Regions from separate parts of the Homo sapiens genome. Here regions 1 and 2 are each linked to region 3. Evidence: promoter capture Hi-C in 16 types of primary human blood cells and fetal thymus (Javierre and others, 2016). All regions are on one chromosome and are shown on one strand. Each heading gives the region's core, a stretch centred on a gene start or on the middle of the fragment in contact. The rest is flanking DNA. Distances are from core to core; before and after follow the strand shown.

The links. Contacts are between HindIII fragments. The CHiCAGO score rates a contact against its expected background, and 5 or more counts as called.
Region 1: a contact is called between a fragment that was not itself captured here and the fragment with the promoter of PIEZO2 in region 3, in 1 of 17 cell types (megakaryocytes). The highest score is 8.0, in megakaryocytes.
Region 2: a fragment that was not itself captured here is called in contact with the fragment with the promoter of PIEZO2 in region 3 in 2 of 17 cell types (megakaryocytes and endothelial precursors); the score reaches 5.1 in megakaryocytes.

What each region holds. Positions count from the first base shown.
Region 1 is chr18:10,542,796-10,547,073 of GRCh38, reverse strand. NAPG (NSF attachment protein gamma) reads right to left here. Exons shown (of 12, transcript NM_003826.3): 9 at 670-748. Among named protein-coding and RNA genes, the nearest start is that of NAPG, 19 kb to the right of the region's middle. The HindIII fragment of the contact is 2,446 bases long and covers 1,013-3,458 here.
Region 2 is chr18:10,580,621-10,584,958 of GRCh38, reverse strand. No RefSeq gene overlaps it. Among named protein-coding and RNA genes, the nearest start is that of LINC01887, 44 kb to the left of the region's middle. The HindIII fragment of the contact is 5,125 bases long and covers 1-4,240 here.
Region 3 is chr18:11,146,702-11,151,105 of GRCh38, reverse strand. PIEZO2 (piezo type mechanosensitive ion channel component 2) reads left to right here and starts at 1,537. Exons shown (of 56, transcript NM_001378183.1): 1 at 1,537-2,581. The coding sequence starts at 2,518. It overlaps LOC124904249 (a long non-coding RNA gene), which reads left to right and starts at 2,590. Exons shown (of 2, transcript XR_007066288.1): 1 at 2,590-4,404. RefSeq lists silencers at 1,185-1,634, 1,875-2,154, 2,175-2,354, 2,365-2,434 and enhancers at 2,128-2,966, 2,995-3,044. The HindIII fragment of the contact is 3,432 bases long and covers 497-3,928 here.

The sequences.
Region 1 (4,278 bases), core at 986-3,485, 600 kb after region 3:
AGAGTAAACCCAAGACTTGTGTGGGCCACATCCACACTCAGGGGACTCCGTTTCCAGCTCTCTCCTTTCCGGAATTTTCTCCTTGCTCTCTAGCTCATTTTCCTAGTTCCTCTGGCAAAAGAGACTGGGGTCCTTGTGGAGTTTTATCAACCTGAGCCATCATCACAGTGTAGCTCCATGCCTGGGACAAGCTTGGAGCAAAGCCAAAGGAGAGGAAAACAATGGGACCTCTTCTCCCATTGCTGGTTAGAAAGGCGGGGTTTCTTTTGGAGTTTTCATTGTTGCAGCCTTTGCTGCCCAGCTCCACAACTGTGGGCTTCTCTCAGGGCAGGGCAATGAATGCTGCAAGAGGAAATGGAAAAAAACCCGAGAAACTCATTCCCATGGTGGTTGTTTCTCCACGTGTTTGCTCCTCTCCTTAGTCTCTTTTTATTTACTTTTCAGAGTTCAAGGGTGGTTGCTTTTGTATTTTATCCAGTAGTTTAGCTGTAATCAGCAGAGAAACAAGCTGTAGTGGGCTTACTCTATCTTGGTCAAAAATAGAGGCCCATGAAGTATTATTTTACAAAAACATAGAAATACCCATAGAATCCTTTCTTAAGTACTTATTCATACCAGTATAAAAAATCATCTAATGTAATACCAAAAACAAACACTTTCAAAGAATACCTTATAACAAGTTGGATAATTCTCAATTTCCTTATAAATATTTTTTTCTTTCTGAATAGAGAGTGCCGCCTCATCAAACCTAAAACAAAACACAGAAATGTAAAAAAAGCAGGTCTAAATGATCTATAGCAGAGGTCCCCTGTGAAATGTACTTGACATCATAGATTGTAGAGACACCAGGAGGACAGGTATTATTAGCAGCTGCCCCAGGACCCAGGTTTCCACATGCTCTGCTCATCTGGCTTACCTTTCAAATGTCTGACTCCCCACTTTCAGGCTGCACGCTGACAGAAAAAGCAAAAGAACTCAAGGATGGGTTAGGTCAAACGGGGAGTTTTAAGCTTAGTAAGGACTGTCCAATAGCGAGTGTCACGACTTCTTCGTGATACGTACTTGAGACGATCTTCGATTAAATCACCCAAGATTTCTTTCCTCCCGACTGAAAGAACATCCAGACACCCAAGGCACTCGGTGCCTTCCCCCGACTGTGTCCCTCCATCACATACTCCGCTGCTGCCCCAGTGGCCCTAGCAAGCTCTGAGGTGCCTAAAAGGGCAGCAGAGGGGAGGCAAGTTAGAGACCTAAACAAAAGCCTTCCTGCATCTTCAGTCTTCAACATTCATCTTTTCCATTGACCCTCATACATTCTCCTTTTCTTCCATTTTGCCCAATGGCAGAATGAAGACGAAAGCAAGGAAAGGGGTCACCAAAACATTTCCCCCAAACCCTCCAGGCCCTTACCCCTTTCTCATTCCCCCAGCCCTAATTCCATCAAACCCTAATTGAACCTCCCCTCCCTGCAAAGCTGTAGTATACTCCAAATGCCAGGACTCCCTCAGTAGTACAACTTGAGACTGAGTGAAATGTACAGTCTTTAGCCACTGCTCTCATCCCAATAACAGTCCACGGTTATGGGAGAAACTACCAGGGTCTGGGCATTGGGAATACACACAACCAACAGCCAAAAGGGGCAAGAGTCTGTACTATCGGGATTCAAAGGGAGGTAAGTGGTATTGTAAACCAAAGTAAAAATACAAAAATGTTATGCTTGTTATGCTATATGCTCTATTTTTCTGTCTTTTTATTTTTTTTTGAGACGGAGTCTCACTCTGTTGCCCAGGCTGGAGTGCAGTGGCGACATCTCGGCTCACCGCAACCTCTGCCTCCCGGGTTCAAGTGATTCTCTTGCCTCAGCCTCCCGAGTAGCTGGGATTACAGGCGCCCACCACCACGCCCAGCTAATTTCTGTATTTTTAATAGAGATGGGGTTTCGCTATGTTGGCCAGGCTGGTCTCGAACTCCTGACCTCAGGGGATCCACCTGCCTCAGCCCCCCAAAGTGCTGGGATTATAGACGTGAGCCACCGCACCCAGCCTGTATGTTATCTTTTTAAAAATAGTGGCATGTATACACAGACACACACACACACCACACACACAGTGGCTTGGCTTATGCTATTATGGCTACTTACATCATGAGTTAAACTGAATCTTTATGGGATGCACGCTGGCAACTTAGTGCCTTATAAAATGACACTCATAGGAGAAATGCATTCTGAATTTCCACAGGTCAACTTGATAAATTTTTGGAACAAAGTCAATTTATAAGCTGGGTTTGGTAGCAGAATTCTAAGAGTGCTCCCGATTCTTGCCCCTTGTAAACATTTCCTCTATAATCCCCCTTTAAGTGTAGGTGTGACCCTCGGAATATGATGGGCCATCCTGTGATTAGGACACAAATCAGCTGACTTCGAGTGAATCACTGTCTGTGTGGGCCTGACTTAATCAGGTGGGCCCTTCCTTAAGTTAGAGGCCAGAGTACTCCTGATGTCTCGAATTAGCAGCAAACTGCCATGCTGTGAACCACCAATGGGGGCACACGGCCAGGAACTGAAGGCAAACTCAAAGCTGAGAGCAGTTCCTGGCGAACAGGCAACAAGAAAACAGGAATCTCTTCCACACAGCTGCAAGGAAATCAATTCTGCCAACAATCAATGAGCTTGGAAAAGGACCCAAGCCTCCGGTGAGATCAGCCCCCTCCGACACCTTCATTTCGGCCTGGTGAGACCCTAGCTCTGCTACCTAGCTACACTAGGACCTAGCTACACTGTATCCAGACTTCTGGCCTCATGAAACTGTGAGCTAATCAGTGAGTACTGTTTTAAGCTGCTAAGTTTGTAGCAATCTGCTATGCAGAAATAAAAAATTAATGCAAGGCGGACTACAGCTACATGTATCTGTATCATTTATAATTGTGACCCTGAGCTTATAACAGATCCTGTTTTATAAAATAAATTATGGTCAGAATATTCTGTGCCCGTCGTGTCTAGATTATATCATTCTATTAGCAATCTCAGTATTTTAAACTTTTCATATATTTAACTATAAAGGGTGCATTCTTTACGCATAAACTGTTTATTTCCTTGACATAATATTAGCATTTCTATGTGCTAATATATAGTTACCTAACAAAAGAGCCAAGCCCTTACATGAGTTTGTAGTCGAAAAAGTTGATCGACTTTGCTAAAAGGCCATGAAATTAGCATACAAAGCCATCTATTTTTAAATGTATCCAGAAAAGTATTAGTTACTTATTATAATGAAACACAGATGCTTTCAACTTTTCCATCAGGTAATACTTAATATTCCTAACAAAATGACAAGAATTTGGTTTTGCTGAAAAAAGAATAAATTGTTTTTATCTTCCCCAAATGTAACAAAATTGAAACCCCACAGAAGTTATGTGCAAATGGCAGAAAACTGTCACAGAACCTCATTCATCCCCAAGCTTTCAACAGACACCTTCTACACCACAACTCAAACTGTTCCTCTGGCCCCAACTATTTCCTGAACTCCAAAACCTATTTTTAACTACCTACAGAAATGTTTAGTTTATGTGTCATATTCCCAGCTAAGTTTATTATCATCACTGATAAGTTTGTTTCTATATTCCTTATCTCAGTTATTGATGGCACCATGGACAGAACAGTTATGCAAGACAGAAACCCAGTGATTCTCCTTAATAGCACACATCCCACCCCTGAACATATACACACCCAACCCTCCTTGTGTTTAGGATCTAGTGACTGTCTCAGACAACTGGTGAGAAGCAGCTCTTTTCTTTGCTAAGTGAGTCTTCTAGGAGGGATTTGGGTTCACTGAGACCACACACCTTGTCTCAGAGGCATAGACCTTCTCTCAGAGGCACAAGGTCATGATCAACTTGCTGGAAAGGTCTTTTTTTCTTTTCTTTTCTTTTTTTTTTTTTTTGAGATGGGAGTCTCACTGCAACCTGTGCCTCCTGGGTTCAAGCGATTCTCCAGCCTCCCGAGTAGCTGGGATTATAGGTGTGCGTCATCACACCCGGCTACTTTTTGTATTTTTAGTAGAGAAGGAGTTTCACCATTTGGCCAAGGCTAATCTTGAACTTCTGACCTCAGGTGATCTGCCTGCCTCAGCCTCCCAAAGTGTTGTGATTACAGGCATGAGCCACTGCACCCAGCCTGGAAAGGCCTTTTCTAAAAAGGAACAAGGGCACTGGCCTTGGACTGACTTTTCCCAGATGTAATCTAAATGAAACTACGAATCACTTCTGAATTTTGACTCTCCA
Region 2 (4,338 bases), core at 429-2,928, 570 kb after region 3:
TTCTCAAAAAACTAAAAATAGAATGACCAGAAGATCCAGCAATCCTACTGCTGAGTATTTATCCAAAAGAAAGGAAATTATTGTATCAAAGAGGTATCTGCATCCCATATTTATTACAGCTTTTATTCATAATAGCCAAGATATGGAATCAACCTAAGTGTCCATCAAAGGATAAGCGAGGAAAGTAGGATACATATGCACAACGGAATATTATTCATCCATTAAAAAGAATGAAATCTTGTCATTTGCAGCAACATGTATGAGACTGGAGGTCATTATGTTAAGTAAAACAAGCCAGACATAAAAGCCAAATATCATATTTTGTCATATGTGGGAGCTAAAAAGTGGATCTCATGGAGGTGGAGAGTAGATTGGTGGTTGCCAGAGGCTGGGAAGGGTAGAGGCGATAGGGGGATGAGGAAAGGTTGGCTAATGAGTAGAAAAACACAGAGAGAAAAAATACTATCTTCTGTTCAATATTAGAGTAGGGAAATAATAGTTAATAGTAATTTATTGTATATTTCAAAATAGCTACAAGAGAGGATTTGTAATGTTTCCAACACAAAGAAAAGATAAATGTTGGGGGTGACTGACATCCCAATTACCCTGATTTGATCATTACACATCGTATACATGTATGAAAATATCACTCTTACCCCATAAATATGTACACTTATTCCAGGTCAACTAAAAAGAAAAAGAAAAAAAAAAAGACTGGTGGTGAGTTCTAAATCTATCAACTATAAAACTAAGACTAAAGAACTAGAAAACTTTGGTGAAAAAAGAGAAGTGTTAGGAACTTTGAAAATAGAAAAATTTTAATATAACTTTTTTTTTTTGAGACAGAGTCTCCCTCTGTTGCCCAGGCTGGAGTGCAGTGGTGCGATCTCGGCTCACTGCAAGCTCTGCCTCCTGGGTTCACACCATTTTTTTTTTTGTATTTTCAGTAGAGATGGGGTTTCACCGTGTTAGCCAGGATGGTCTTGATCTCCTGACTTCGTGATCCGCCTGCCTCGGCCTCCCAAAGTGCTGGGATTACAGGCATGATTATATAACTTTTTAAAAGTCAGGACATTTTAAGAAAAACTATTCAAGGACCCAAGATTGTACCAATTGCCCCATATTTCAGAGCTGAGAATCAACAGAAAATGCCTAAAAATGCTTAAAATAGTTAGAAATACAAGCATAAACAATCCTTTTTAAATTTGAGAAGAATCTTACAGAAATGAATACCTCTGATGAAGAAACATTTATCTGAATTTCAACAATTATTTCATTTTTTTCTTTTATTAAATTCAATGGCGATTGTTATAACTTTATTTTTAATTAGTAAACAGAATCCTATATAATAATGTGTTTATCTATTGACCCTTTCACCAGTATCCACACGGAAAGGAGACTGGAGTGATAGTCACAAAGGTAACGTTTATTTCTGAATAATAAAATTTGAATGAATTTTTTTTCCTTTGCACTTTTTGGGTTGCTTGATGTTCTTTTCTTTTCAAATGAACAAAAATTAAAGAATTTCCACAAAACAACAACTAAAAAGAAATATTTACTAAACCAGTTATTTTGTGTGAGACATTATGTGTGGTTAAGAACTGTGGAACTCTGCATGGACTTCTAGTTGGAAAGGCAACATTGATGGGGATGGGAATTATGATGATGGAATTACAGAGAGATAAATAGGTGATACACAGTAAAGATACGTGATGGACAAAAAGCTAAGCAGCCAATTAGATAAGGAAATACAGAATGTCACAGGGATACTGGGCCAGAACACCTTGCATCTATATCTGTATTATTCATTGATTTGTTCAGTAAGGAAAATAAAAGCAGAAAGATTTCTTGGCAGTAACTGTATCCTCTAACTCACCAACTGAGCAGTAAAATATCCCTCCTCAGTGCTATTATTAAAATGTTTCTCTAATTTCTTCATCTATAATACCAGGAACCTAACGTTATGCTAATTTTCAGATTATTGTTTTGATAAAGAGGATTTTATTTTCAGATTGTAATATCTACACATTGAAGGGGAGACAGCTGTTGATCTTTTAGCTTAGGCACACAGGCATAAAAGGAAGGCTGGTTTCTCAGGTCAAGAGGCCATCGCCACCATTCACCTGGTGAAAGGAAGCTGAGCCAGGGAGGAGGGCCACAGTGTGGGTGATGAGGGGCACCTCACTTTCAAGGGGCCCCATGACACTCCCGGCTGCTGTAGTGTTCATTCTGGTGTGCACGTGCTCAGGAAGTCAAAGAAATAAAATCAGTAATTTTTTTTCATGCTTCATCTCGTATGTGTTCAACTCTACCCCTTAAATTTTGAGTTGTTCGAAATAAAGAGCCTTCCCTCATGTATGCATGGGAAGAAAATATCCTCTCCCAGGCCCCATGCACAGTCCCGCTCACTCTTCTGCGAGCAGTGAGAGCTGCGGGCAATATAACACTGAAAATTGTCCTTAGTCTCTATGTATTTGTTTCTCTGATCCGAATAAGCAAGCAAAAGCCCACAGGCCATGCGAAAATCCCTCCCAGGGAATGTGCAGTGATGGCTGCCTCTTCCCAAGCCCTGCCTTCTTCCTCTGTGAACACAGAAACCATACAGATGTGGACACACAACCGGAAATGCCACCCCATCAAAATGGAAAACTAAGTGGATAAATTGTTGAAAAGCCAACTTACAGACTCTGAGGAATGCTGGATTGAAAGCACATTTGTCTTCTGTTTCTTTTTTCTTTTTCTTTTTTTTTTTTTGAGATGGAGTCTCACTCTTGTTGTGCAATGGTGCGATCTCTGCTCACTGCAACCTCTGCCTCCCAGGGTCAAGTGGTTCTCCTGCCTCAGCCTCCCAAGTATCTGGAATTACAGGCACGTGCCGCCATGCCCAGCTAATTTTTGTATTTTTAGTAGAGACAGGGTTTCACCATGTTGGCCAGGCTGGTCTCGAACTCCTGACCTCCAGTGATCCACCCGCCTTGCACTCCCAAAGTGCTGAGATTACAGGTGTGAGCCACCATGCTTGGCCTCATCTTCTATTTCTTCAGCATTTTTCTGTGGAATTTTGGAAAAGACAAAGTCCATTCCCAGGAAGGAGCATGACCACAGAATGGAGAGCAGAATTACCAGAAAGACAAAGCAATACAAGTTGCATAAACAAATGGATATATTTGCTTTTTCCCCTGTAACAGGAAGTTTGAGTGTAGTTAGAAATGAACTGACACAGCGGCTTAAAAACATTATGAAGTTCTGCTGTAAATTTTTTTTTTTTTTTGAGACGGAGTTTCACTCTTGTCGCCAGGCTGGAGTGCAATGGTGCAATCTTAGCTCACTGCAACCTCCGCCTCCCGGACTCAAGTGATTCTCCTGCCTCAGCCTCCCAAGTAGCTGGGATTACAGGTGTGTGCCACCACACCCAGCTAATTTTGTATTTTTTTTTAGTAGAGACTGGGTTTCACCATGTTGGTCAGGCTGGTCTCAAACTCCTGACCTCAAGTGATCCATCCGCCTCAACCTCCCAAAATGCTGGAATTATAGGCATGAGCCAACCTGCCCAGCTGCTGTAACATTCTTAAAAACGTTGACATGTTGCCCTATGAATGTAAGACACAGGCTAGGCCTTCAGACACTTCCAGGGTCAAGACTGGGAGACAGCTGAAAGGGAGGGAAGCAAGGAGCTTTCTCCAAGGGAGATTATGCTTTAGTATGGGGGAAGGAAGGGGATCCCCAGTGCACGTTTATTCCACAGCATTGCCCGTCATGAGGCAGTGATCCTGTCTTGGATGAAAAAAGATTAGGTGACCATGTCTTGGTTAGACCAACCACAACTCATCCTCTTAAGTGGAAGAAGGGCTTCCCTTTCTTGCAATCAAGTCAGATCCACTACCAACTAGACAAAGTGGGGTTTGATTCACAGGGAGGAAAGGAAACGCCCACAGTCTAGGCAGCAGACAGGATGATGGCGCAGCTTCTGATGCCTTGGGTTTGTGCCTTTATGTAGACAGCAATTAGAACAAGGAGCAGAAGAAATTGTTTTTATTGGGTACTTTGTAGGAGGCTGAGTCTCCAGTGGTACTGATTTGGGGCCCAAATGAGACACAACAAGTGCTAGAGGGTTTGCTCCACAGAATGTGTGTTAGTCATAGAATGCTACATAGCAAATCCCTCCAAAACCTCGTGCCTTAAAACAAAACAAGATTTTTATTTCTCACAGTTTCTGTGGATTAGGCATTTGGGAAAAGCTTGGCTGTGTGGTTCTGCCTGGGTTTCTGATGAGGCGGCAGTGAAAATATCAACGGCTCCTGCAGATCTGAAGGCCTGGGCGGGGCTGAAGGACCTGCT
Region 3 (4,404 bases), core at 288-2,787:
ACAGTTGTTAGTATGGGAAGCCTATCAAGAACATAAGAAAGTATTCAGAGAATACAGAATTCATGTGATGACACAGTATTATTTAAAATTCAGGAGTCCTTCACCTATTAGCTCCCAAGAATGAGTCGTACATGGGGTGAGGTGGGGAGGGCATGGATGTGAAGGCAGACTTATGAACATCAAAATTAGTGGTAGATTTATATCAGGCTTCTACAAACAGGCTACACAAACCATTTCTTGATAGCATTTCTTGGTGACTGGATGCTAATTTAAGTTCTATCGTCTCCTGTAGGTCTGCTGTTGAGCTCATGACTACGCCCGGGTTTAGGTGCTATCTAAGCTTCTTGAGGATGGCAGAGCACATGGGTGGTTTAAGTTTCAGGGTGTCTTCACCATATGCCAACTGTCTTGAGTCTTCATTCAAAAAGCAATGGTTCATAGTTTTTCTGTAATTCTCAGAGAATTCGTGAAGGCACCTGAGCTCAAACCACAAGCTTACCCTGTCTCAAAAAAGGGATGTCCACAAAAGCGTTTCAAATGGCTAAAAAGACGGGGGTTTGCCTGTTTTTCATCAGCTCACTGCTCTATCCCCTCCAACTAATGCAAGCCAGGAATGTAGGTGCGGAAGGGAAGCCAGGTCCTTCCCAGTGTGTCCTCCTGATGGAATGCCAGTCCTGAACAGTCCTCTCTACAGATGCTAACAGCCTCTTCCTCCATGTCCGGAAAGACCCCTACTGTGCTCTAGCAAATCTCCTCCACTCTCGGATAACAGTTAAATAAAAGACCCAGGCACACTGCAGTCTCCCAGCTAGAGCCAGATTTCTCTAGATCTTGCCTAGAACAGGCAAAAAGCAGTGCACTAGGAGAAAGGGAGAATATTCTCAGTGCCAACGCTCTCTTTCCCCAGAGCCACGACAAGCAAGGAGCAAAACTGAGGTGAAAACGGAGAGTTCCCCCAAATGCACAAAGTGGGTGCATTATCTGTTGGGGAAGACCCGGGATTTCCCAGAGTCTATTCAGAATGGCAAGTTCTTGCTATGTGAAATATGGGCAGGGTCAACGGTGTAGATGAATTCAGCTCTATTCTTCTTAATGCCAGTGTGCACCTGTGGACCCAGCAGAAGTCGGGGTCGCACAGGACTCTCCAAGCCCCTGGCTTCTCTCCTGCCGGGCCTGTGCGTTTCCCTCGGACCTTAAACGGTTCCCTGGGTTTGGGCAAGCTCAGGGCCCGGCCGGGTGGACTGGATGCCAGGGTGCACCACCGGAATGACAGAACCACGCAGAGCCGCGGGGCTGCGGGAGCCAGTGGGGCAGGAGTGCCCGCGGAGGGCGAGCCAAGGCGCGCAGCCCACTGGCAGGCCAGGCCGGGTCTCTCCCAGGCGCGGGAGCCGCGGGTGGGGGCTTGCCCTCCGCGCCGGTGCAAGGCTCTCACTTCCCCAGCCGCTCAGGGGCGGGCTCCGCGCGCGCAGGCCCCGGAGCCGCCATCCCATTGGCCGGGGGACACGCCCGTCCCCGAGTGAGGGCTTCGAAAGTTTCATTGAAGGTGGAGAAGCGCGCGCCGCCGGGGAGCCCCGGCTGCGCCGCGAGGGCGAGGCTGCAAGGCGGCAGGCGGTGGTCGCGCTGGGCGACGGGACGGCGCTGGTTTTTCTCTTGAGTTTTAAATTGAGGCGGTGGAGGAGGGAGTGGGAGACCCACTCACCCGATATGCGCTCTGGTCTCCATTTCTCCCCACGCTCGCGCCGTTCCTTCGAGTGAGGGAGGGACTCGCAGCGCCGCCCGCGCACCGGACCCACAAGGCGAGCCCCGTGGTGGCGGGGATGGTTCTGCGCGCCTGGCAGCTCCCACCCCGGTCTCTCCGGCCCGAAGCTGGGGGGCGCAGGGGCTGAGCTGCGCTGCCTCTCGGGGATCCGCCGCGGGCCGCCTGGGGGCTGGAGGGCGAGACCCGGAGCCCGCCGGGCAGCTCCGAGAGCCGGGGCCGAGGCCAGAGCGCGGCAGCCTGCGTGGGCAGCGGAGACGAGGCCGGGCAAAGGAGACGCGGTGGCTTCAGAGGGGCTTCCAAGTAGAAAACTCCCCGGCCGCCCCCAAACGACGCCCCGGGAGCCAGGCGGGAGCACAGCACGCCCTTCTTGCCCCCTTTGCTCGCCGCGCCGCCTCCCAGGACCCTCCCAAAGCGTCCCTCTCCAAGGCCCCGGCATCAGCTACCCCTGAAGAAGCCGCCGCCGCTGCCGGATCCAGGATTCACACTAAATGGGCCGGCCGCAGGGGGCCGGGCGCCGGGCTAGGTGGCCGCCAAGAGCCTGGTGAGGGGCTACCCAGAGCCCGGTGGGCGAGGGGCGGCCAAGAGCCCCGGGAGCGTGCCCTCGGGGCGGAGAGCGTCGCGGCCCGCGCCGAGGCGATGCTCGGGTGGCTGCGAGCTGCCGGCGGCGAGAGGCCATAGACGGGCATGGGCCTTGCGTCCCACCACCCCTAGGGACCCTCGAGCCTCGCCCCTCTGCTCCGACTCGCCGGACCGACGCGATGGCCTCAGAAGTGGTGTGCGGGCTCATCTTCAGGCTGCTGCTGCCCATCTGCCTGGCAGTAGGTGAGTCTGGTCCGCTTTCCGAGGGCACTTGAGGAGGACGAGGGGGGCGCCTGGGTGGGGGACTTCTTAACAAAGTGAAGGGCTCTGGTGCTCTGGGGTTCGATTCGGGAGGCCAGCGGCGTCAGACGCGCGCTGTCCCTGGTGCACAGCCTGGCTCTCTCACTTCCCACTCTGGGGCGCGCGATCGGGGTATCTCTTAACAGGATGCTCGGGACGGGCATGTGCTGGAAACTGTTTATGTTGAATTTAGTTACACGTGGATTTTCTTTCGTGGAGTACTGACTTGTGTACTAAGGATGGCCATTGCTGTGGCTGGAAGGCGGATGCGTCCCCATCGTAGGTACAGTCAGGCTCCTACCTGAGCCCCTCGCCCCAGTGACCCTGCAAGCACAGCATGCTGTGCCTCCAGACGGCCCAGAGGCCATCTCTCCCAGACCCCAAATCCCAGCAACCGTGAAGGAAGAAGTGAAGGACTCCGGTCATTCAAAAAAGAAAAAGAGGGACGAGGTACAGGGAGACAGTGCCTTGACGTTTCTTACTTATTTTTTAAAACCTCCACAAAAGCCCCTACTACAAAAGTACTGGATGCTAAGGCTATAGACCCCCAACACCTAGTCCCGCCTCCCAGCGGCCGCCCTCTCCAGATTTTAAAGGGTTAGAAAGCAGGGTTGGAACTCCTTGGGACTGGCAAGGGCCCAGGGAGGACCGCAAGGGAGCCTCCTCGACGCCCAGACAAGCGTTGCACCGTTTCCCCAGGACTGGCCTGGCGTGCAAAGCAACTGGGTGCTGCGTTCTGGGAGTCGGACCGTTTCTGATCTTCTCCTCAAACAGGCAGTGCCTGTGACATTGAATTCCTCTCGTAAGAATGCCGGGCCCTGGTTCTTTGCTCTCCCTCTCACCAACAAGAGCTAGGAAGTAGAGCGCTTTTCACCAAGTAGTAACTGTATTTACAGAGGGCGTGGCCTTCGCAGAAAAGGCCACCTTTTTGCATCTTGACCGAGGTTGATGACTCTGCATCTTGACCGAGGTTGATCACACCTGTGTTAAATGTTTTCTTTGTGCAAGCAATCGAATGGGGGCTGTAGCGTGATTGGTGAGGGTCAGGACAGTTGCCGGGAGAGTTTTTGTAACACACTTCGTGAGTGAAGAGTCTGGGAGGCGTCTTTTCAACAAACCTCAGCGGAAAACCCAGAAAGGCGCTCCGAGTGGAGGGAAGGTGTGGCCAGGCGGGGTCCCGGGGCAGCAGGAGGGACCCACGGGTGGATGCTGGCCTCGTTCTCTACTTTGCAGTTTGAGTTTCCATTTTGCAGGGGTCTAGTCTCACTCGCATAGATGAAGAGCTAAGCTTCCACAGAGCGGATATGCACCTCTCTCCCCGCCAGCTTGAAAAGCGATTTGGGAAAGGGATTCTTCAGGTGCCTTACACACAGAGGGTGTCACTGCTCAGGGATCATCTCTGTATCCTAAGCGCTTGGCACTGTGCCTGGCACATTTACTATTTGTGAATTGGAAGCTAGTGACCGAGTTAACAAAGGGCTTTTAGCATGAAGCGTGATTTATGGTCCTCAGTGCAGACCGGGGAGGGGTCCTGGGGAGTGGCACTAAGGTTAAAGGCCGCTCTGCTCCCTCCCAGTCCCTCTATCCACCGTCCTCCTCGCCACTGTTCCTGGAGGATGGACACCCTCTTCCCCATCCCCCATCCCGCTCTCCAAGGGACAGCAGCTCACTGTGACTGTTGGAAGAGTTAGGCATGTGGTTCCCTGCAGCCAGCTCGGTCCACTCTGTGACTTGGCACCAGTGGCGGAATGAAGTGCCAGCAGCGA